Linked DNA regions of Homo sapiens: region 1 is linked to region 2. Evidence: promoter capture Hi-C in human tissues and cell types (Jung and others, 2019). All regions are on one chromosome and are shown on one strand. The core of a region is centred on a gene start or on the middle of the fragment in contact, and the rest is flanking DNA. Distances in the headings are between cores, read along the strand shown. Region 1 overlaps HAPLN3 (hyaluronan and proteoglycan link protein 3). Region 2 holds the start of RLBP1 (retinaldehyde binding protein 1).

Evidence for each region. The method cuts DNA at HindIII sites, captures the fragments that hold promoters and counts their contacts. A contact is called where the count stands out against the background at its distance.
Region 1: a fragment that was not itself captured here is called in contact with the fragment with the promoter of RLBP1 in region 2 in 2 of the 25 tissues and cell types used here (H1 embryonic stem cells and stomach).

The regions. Positions count from the first base shown.
Region 1 is chr15:88,877,171-88,880,201 of GRCh38, reverse strand. HAPLN3 (hyaluronan and proteoglycan link protein 3) reads left to right here. Exons shown (of 5, transcript NM_178232.4): 4 at 933-1,235; 5 at 1,946-2,908. The coding sequence ends at 2,232. Among named protein-coding and RNA genes, the nearest start is that of HAPLN3, 17 kb to the left of the region's middle. RefSeq lists an enhancer at 1,077-1,652. The HindIII fragment of the contact is 7,012 bases long and covers 1-3,031 here.
Region 2 is chr15:89,220,145-89,223,039 of GRCh38, reverse strand. RLBP1 (retinaldehyde binding protein 1) reads left to right here and starts at 1,461. Exons shown (of 9, transcript NM_000326.5): 1 at 1,461-1,505. The HindIII fragment of the contact is 12,253 bases long and covers 1-2,895 here.

The sequences.
Region 1 (3,031 bases), core at 256-2,755, 340 kb after region 2:
GGGCTAGGAATTTGGGGTGGAACCAGGCATGAAATAGTCCCCCTGCAAACACACGTAGAGGCTGCAAGCTGACTGTCAGGGCCCATGGGCTTCTCTGCCGCCCAACCTGGCTTTGCCCAGGTGCCTGGCTTCCGGCCCTGGTGAGATCGGAGGTTTGGGGCTCAGGCTGTTCCTGGGTCCTTGGCCACACGGAGGAGATTCCAAAGTGTCCTTCCCAGACCCCTAGGGTCACCTCCACTCCCTAAGGTTTCATTGACTTGGTAGAGACTACATCTCAGAAGTTTAAAAACTTTTTATTAGAGTAAAATTTCAAACACGAACATATCTTTTCAGGGCCTGTGGCCTCTATCAGACCCTGACCACAAGGAGAGAAACCGCCTGCCCCAGACCTCCCTGCCCTTGAGCCTCCTTTATGGAAGGCCCTTCCCCAACCCTCTCCCCACGGCCTCTAGGGCCTCTCCTTCTCCTGAAAATCATCTGCCACACGTGGAAAGTTCCTTGCATTTTCCTAGGAAATTTCCACATTCATAATAACGTAGACGATCGGGTCCCAGCTAACGAGTGGGGAGCTGGGAGTCAAACCTGGCCCCTAGAGCCCAAAGCCCGGGCCTGTCTGGAGAAGATGGCACAGCCTCACTGGGGGTCTGGCGACAGCCTTGCGGATTAGGTTGGGGACATTGTTGGGGACATTAATGGACTAATTAATTACCTTAACTCATGGATGTTTTCTGAGTACTGCTGTGAACCAGCTGAGTCCCAGGAGAGAGGCGGCAACGGACAGGAGGTCAGAGGTTTGCTGAGTTTTTCTGAGGGATGGTGTATGTGTGTGTGTTGCAGGCAGCACATGTCCCAGTGAAGGTGGGAGGAGAGCGGGGTGTCCAGCCAGCTGGGCCCCTGGCCACCCCCTAAGCTCCTCTTTCCTTCCCCTGCAGGTGTGGTCTTTCCTTACCAGTCCCCCAACGGGCGCTACCAGTTCAACTTCCACGAGGGCCAGCAGGTCTGTGCAGAGCAGGCTGCGGTGGTGGCCTCCTTTGAGCAGCTCTTCCGGGCCTGGGAGGAGGGCCTGGACTGGTGCAACGCGGGCTGGCTGCAGGATGCCACGGTGCAGTACCCCATCATGTTGCCCCGGCAGCCCTGCGGTGGCCCGGGCCTGGCACCTGGCGTGCGAAGCTACGGCCCCCGCCACCGCCGCCTGCACCGCTATGATGTATTCTGCTTCGCTACTGCCCTCAAGGGTGAGTGGAATAGCCAAGCGCGGGCCTGTGGGTTTGGTGGCCACCTGGGACCTGTGAGAGGGCAGCTTCTGGGGAGCTCTGGCCCCCTCTGCTGGCTCTGCTGGTACTGCCACCTGGAGGCCAAGAGCACCAGCCACCCTAGAAGCAGCATCTGGTTGAGTTTTGAGTGCTTTGCTGCTGCTGCGTTATGCAGGGCATAAATCATTGGTTTCTTCATTCATCAAATGTTTACTGAGTGCCTACCATATGCTGGGGCCTAGACTAGGCTCTCGGGAATCACAGACGAATAAAACACAGCCTGTCTTCACAAAGCAGCTCATTTCGTAGGAAGATGAACAAGTAAAAACAGAAACTGGTTCAGTGTCATATGCCAAGCCCTTGGAAAAGTGTCTGACACATAGTAGGTGTTCAGTAAATGACCGAATGGGCAAGAGACTCTGACTGGTCCAGCCTAGGTGGGGTGCCCACCCACCTAAATAGGGAAGGGTGGTGGGGGAGTGCAGACATGTCTGGAGGGACCTGGGTTCTATGGCAGGTGGGACAGAGCTCTCTGGGACAGGGTGAAGATTAGAAAGTGTTCTCTGCAGATGCCTGCAGTATGGTAGCTCCCTGGGCTCAGACGGGTCTTTGGGGCTGGCATCTCTGCAGACCCCGCTGTGCTCTCTGGCTGCCCCCTGCGCTGTACGGCACTCACGCCCCCTTTCCCCCAGGGCGGGTGTACTACCTGGAGCACCCTGAGAAGCTGACGCTGACAGAGGCAAGGGAGGCCTGCCAGGAAGATGATGCCACGATCGCCAAGGTGGGACAGCTCTTTGCCGCCTGGAAGTTCCATGGCCTGGACCGCTGCGACGCTGGCTGGCTGGCAGATGGTAGCGTCCGCTACCCTGTGGTTCACCCGCATCCTAACTGTGGGCCCCCAGAGCCTGGGGTCCGAAGCTTTGGCTTCCCCGACCCGCAGAGCCGCTTGTACGGTGTTTACTGCTACCGCCAGCACTAGGACCTGGGGCCCTCCCCTGCCGCATTCCCTCACTGGCTGTGTATTTATTGAGTGGTTCGTTTTCCCTTGTGGGTTGGAGCCATTTTAACTGTTTTTATACTTCTCAATTTAAATTTTCTTTAAACATTTTTTTACTATTTTTTGTAAAGCAAACAGAACCCAATGCCTCCCTTTGCTCCTGGATGCCCCACTCCAGGAATCATGCTTGCTCCCCTGGGCCATTTGCGGTTTTGTGGGCTTCTGGAGGGTTCCCCGCCATCCAGGCTGGTCTCCCTCCCTTAAGGAGGTTGGTGCCCAGAGTGGGCGGTGGCCTGTCTAGAATGCCGCCGGGAGTCCGGGCATGGTGGGCACAGTTCTCCCTGCCCCTCAGCCTGGGGGAAGAAGAGGGCCTCGGGGGCCTCCGGAGCTGGGCTTTGGGCCTCTCCTGCCCACCTCTACTTCTCTGTGAAGCCGCTGACCCCAGTCTGCCCACTGAGGGGCTAGGGCTGGAAGCCAGTTCTAGGCTTCCAGGCGAAAGCTGAGGGAAGGAAGAAACTCCCCTCCCCGTTCCCCTTCCCCTCTCGGTTCCAAAGAATCTGTTTTGTTGTCATTTGTTTCTCCTGTTTCCCTGTGTGGGGAGGGGCCCTCAGGTGTGTGTACTTTGGACAATAAATGGTGCTATGACTGCCTTCCGCCATCCCCAGCCCTTTTCTGTGTCTCCATCTCGTTCGGTCTCAGGGCGCAGCCCCCTGCCTGGTGGGTGTGGTGGGGGCAGTTCTAGCCCAGGCTTCATAGGTTGGCTGGGTCAGGTCCCTGGGGT
Region 2 (2,895 bases), core at 212-2,711:
ACCACCAGGAAGAAGAATGACATAAATGAAGGATCCCCAGCTCCACAGAGGACTTGGGACAGAAACAGCCCAAGACCCAGACAGCAGCCAGAGTAGGAGCCCAGGGAAAGGGCTTTTGGAAACAAAGAGCTCAAGGTGACTCAAATGCACCCCAAGATCTAAGCACCAGGCATTGCAGCCTGCTCTGGAGGAAGGGGTCGGCAGGAGATGGGGTGGTGGGAAGAAATCCCAAACCTGCCAAAGTAGGAATGGGTGGAAAAGCAAGAACTATGTCCAGGGAAAATAAAAAAGCACTTCTGGGGTTGGATTCTGGAGAGCGACCTGTGCAGGGGAGCTTGACCTTCTCCTGGGCACCTCTAGGAGGCAAAACCAGGACCAAGGGTGGTCATTATAGGAAGCTGCTTGGGGCTCAAACCAACAATGAGGTTTTAAACAAGGAGAGCTCCCCAGTAATGGAAACAGGGAGCTTCCCGCCCTTGGAATCCTAGACAGAAAATGTTCTACAGGAATTACCTCCTCCTCATCCAGTGGAATAGCAAAACAGAGGCTGGGAAGTTACCTGTTGAGAGGCTGCAGAGGGGTTTCTTCCTGTACAAAGGATTGAATAATAAGTTCCCTCCAGTTAGGCACCTATTGATACTGTATTTGGAGTAACTGACCTTTCCAGAGGACTTATTGTCAGGCAGCTAAACCCCTGAACTAAGCACTTTACTGCCATTTCATCCGCACTAAAGTCATGAGCCTGGTCCTCTAGTTTTCTACACTTCTTAGAGGAGGAAACTGAGCCGATGAGTTTTGAAGTCATGTTTCCCGGCCAGAAGATGCTCGAGCGAGGCTTTACAGGCGGGCAGTCTGGTTCCAGGGCATGCCACTGCACCACACTGCCCAGAAGGAGGCTCAGCCTGTCTTGTCCTCTCCCTGCTTGGCCTTAACCAGCCACATTTCTCAACTGACCCCACTCACTGCAGAGGTGAAAACTACCATGCCAGGTCCTGCTGGCTGGGGGAGGGGTGGGCAATAGGCCTGGATTTGCCAGAGCTGCCACTGTAGATGTAGTCATATTTACGATTTCCCTTCACCTCTTATTACCCTGGTGGTGGTGGTGGGGGGGGGGGGGTGCTCTCTCAGCAACCCCACCCCGGGATCTTGAGGAGAAAGAGGGCAGAGAAAAGAGGGAATGGGACTGGCCCAGATCCCAGCCCCACAGCCGGGCTTCCACATGGCCGAGCAGGAACTCCAGAGCAGGAGCACACAAAGGAGGGCTTTGATGCGCCTCCAGCCAGGCCCAGGCCTCTCCCCTCTCCCCTTTCTCTCTGGGTCTTCCTTTGCCCCACTGAGGGCCTCCTGTGAGCCCGATTTAACGGAAACTGTGGGCGGTGAGAAGTTCCTTATGACACACTAATCCCAACCTGCTGACCGGACCACGCCTCCAGCGGAGGGAACCTCTAGAGCTCCAGGACATTCAGGTACCAGGTAGCCCCAAGGAGGAGCTGCCGACCTGGCAGGTAAGTCAATACCTGGGGCTTGCCTGGGCCAGGGAGCCCAGGACTGGGGTGAGGACTCAGGGGAGCAGGGAGACCACGTCCCAAGATGCCTGTAAAACTGAAACCACCTGGCCATTCTCCAGGTTGAGCCAGACCAATTTGATGGCAGATTTAGCAAATAAAAATACAGGACACCCAGTTAAATGTGAATTTCAGATGAACAGCAAATACTTTTTTAGTATTAAAAAAGTTCACATTTAGGCTCACGCCTGTAATCCCAGCACTTTGGGAGGCCGAGGCAGGCAGATCACCTGAGGTCAGGAGTTCGAGACCAGCCTGGCCAACATGGTGAAACCCCATCTCCACTAAAAATACCAAAAATTAGCCAGGCGTGCTGGTGGGCACCTGTAGTTCCAGCTACTCAGGAGGCTAAGGCAGGAGAATTGCTTGAACCTGGGAGGCAGAGGTTGCAGTGAGCTGAGATCGCACCATTGCACTCTAGCCTGGGCGACAAGAACAAAACTCCATCTCAAAAAAAAAAAAAAAAAAAAAGTTCACATTTAACTGGGCATTCTGTATTTAATTGGTAATCTGAGATGGCAGGGAACAGCATCAGCATGGTGTGAGGGATAGGCATTTTTTCATTGTGTACAGCTTGTAAATCAGTATTTTTAAAACTCAAAGTTAATGGCTTGGGCATATTTAGAAAAGAGTTGCCGCACGGACTTGAACCCTGTATTCCTAAAATCTAGGATCTTGTTCTGATGGTCTGCACAACTGGCTGGGGGTGTCCAGCCACTGTCCCTCTTGCCTGGGCTCCCCAGGGCAGTTCTGTCAGCCTCTCCATTTCCATTCCTGTTCCAGCAAAACCCAACTGATAGCACAGCAGCATTTCAGCCTGTCTACCTCTGTGCCCACATACCTGGATGTCTACCAGCCAGAAAGGTGGCTTAGATTTGGTTCCTGTGGGTGGATTATGGCCCCCAGAACTTCCCTGTGCTTGCTGGGGGTGTGGAGTGGAAAGAGCAGGAAATGGGGGACCCTCCGATACTCTATGGGGGTCCTCCAAGTCTCTTTGTGCAAGTTAGGGTAATAATCAATATGGAGCTAAGAAAGAGAAGGGGAACTATGCTTTAGAACAGGACACTGTGCCAGGAGCATTGCAGAAATTATATGGTTTTCACGACAGTTCTTTTTGGTAGGTACTGTTATTATCCTCAGTTTGCAGATGAGGAAACTGAGACCCAGAAAGGTTAAATAACTTGCTAGGGTCACACAAGTCATAACTGACAAAGCCTGATTCAAACCCAGGTCTCCCTAACCTTTAAGGTTTCTATGACGCCAGCTCTCCTAGGGAGTTTGTCTTCAGATGTCTTGGCTCTAGGTGTCAAAAAAAGACTTGGTGTCAGGC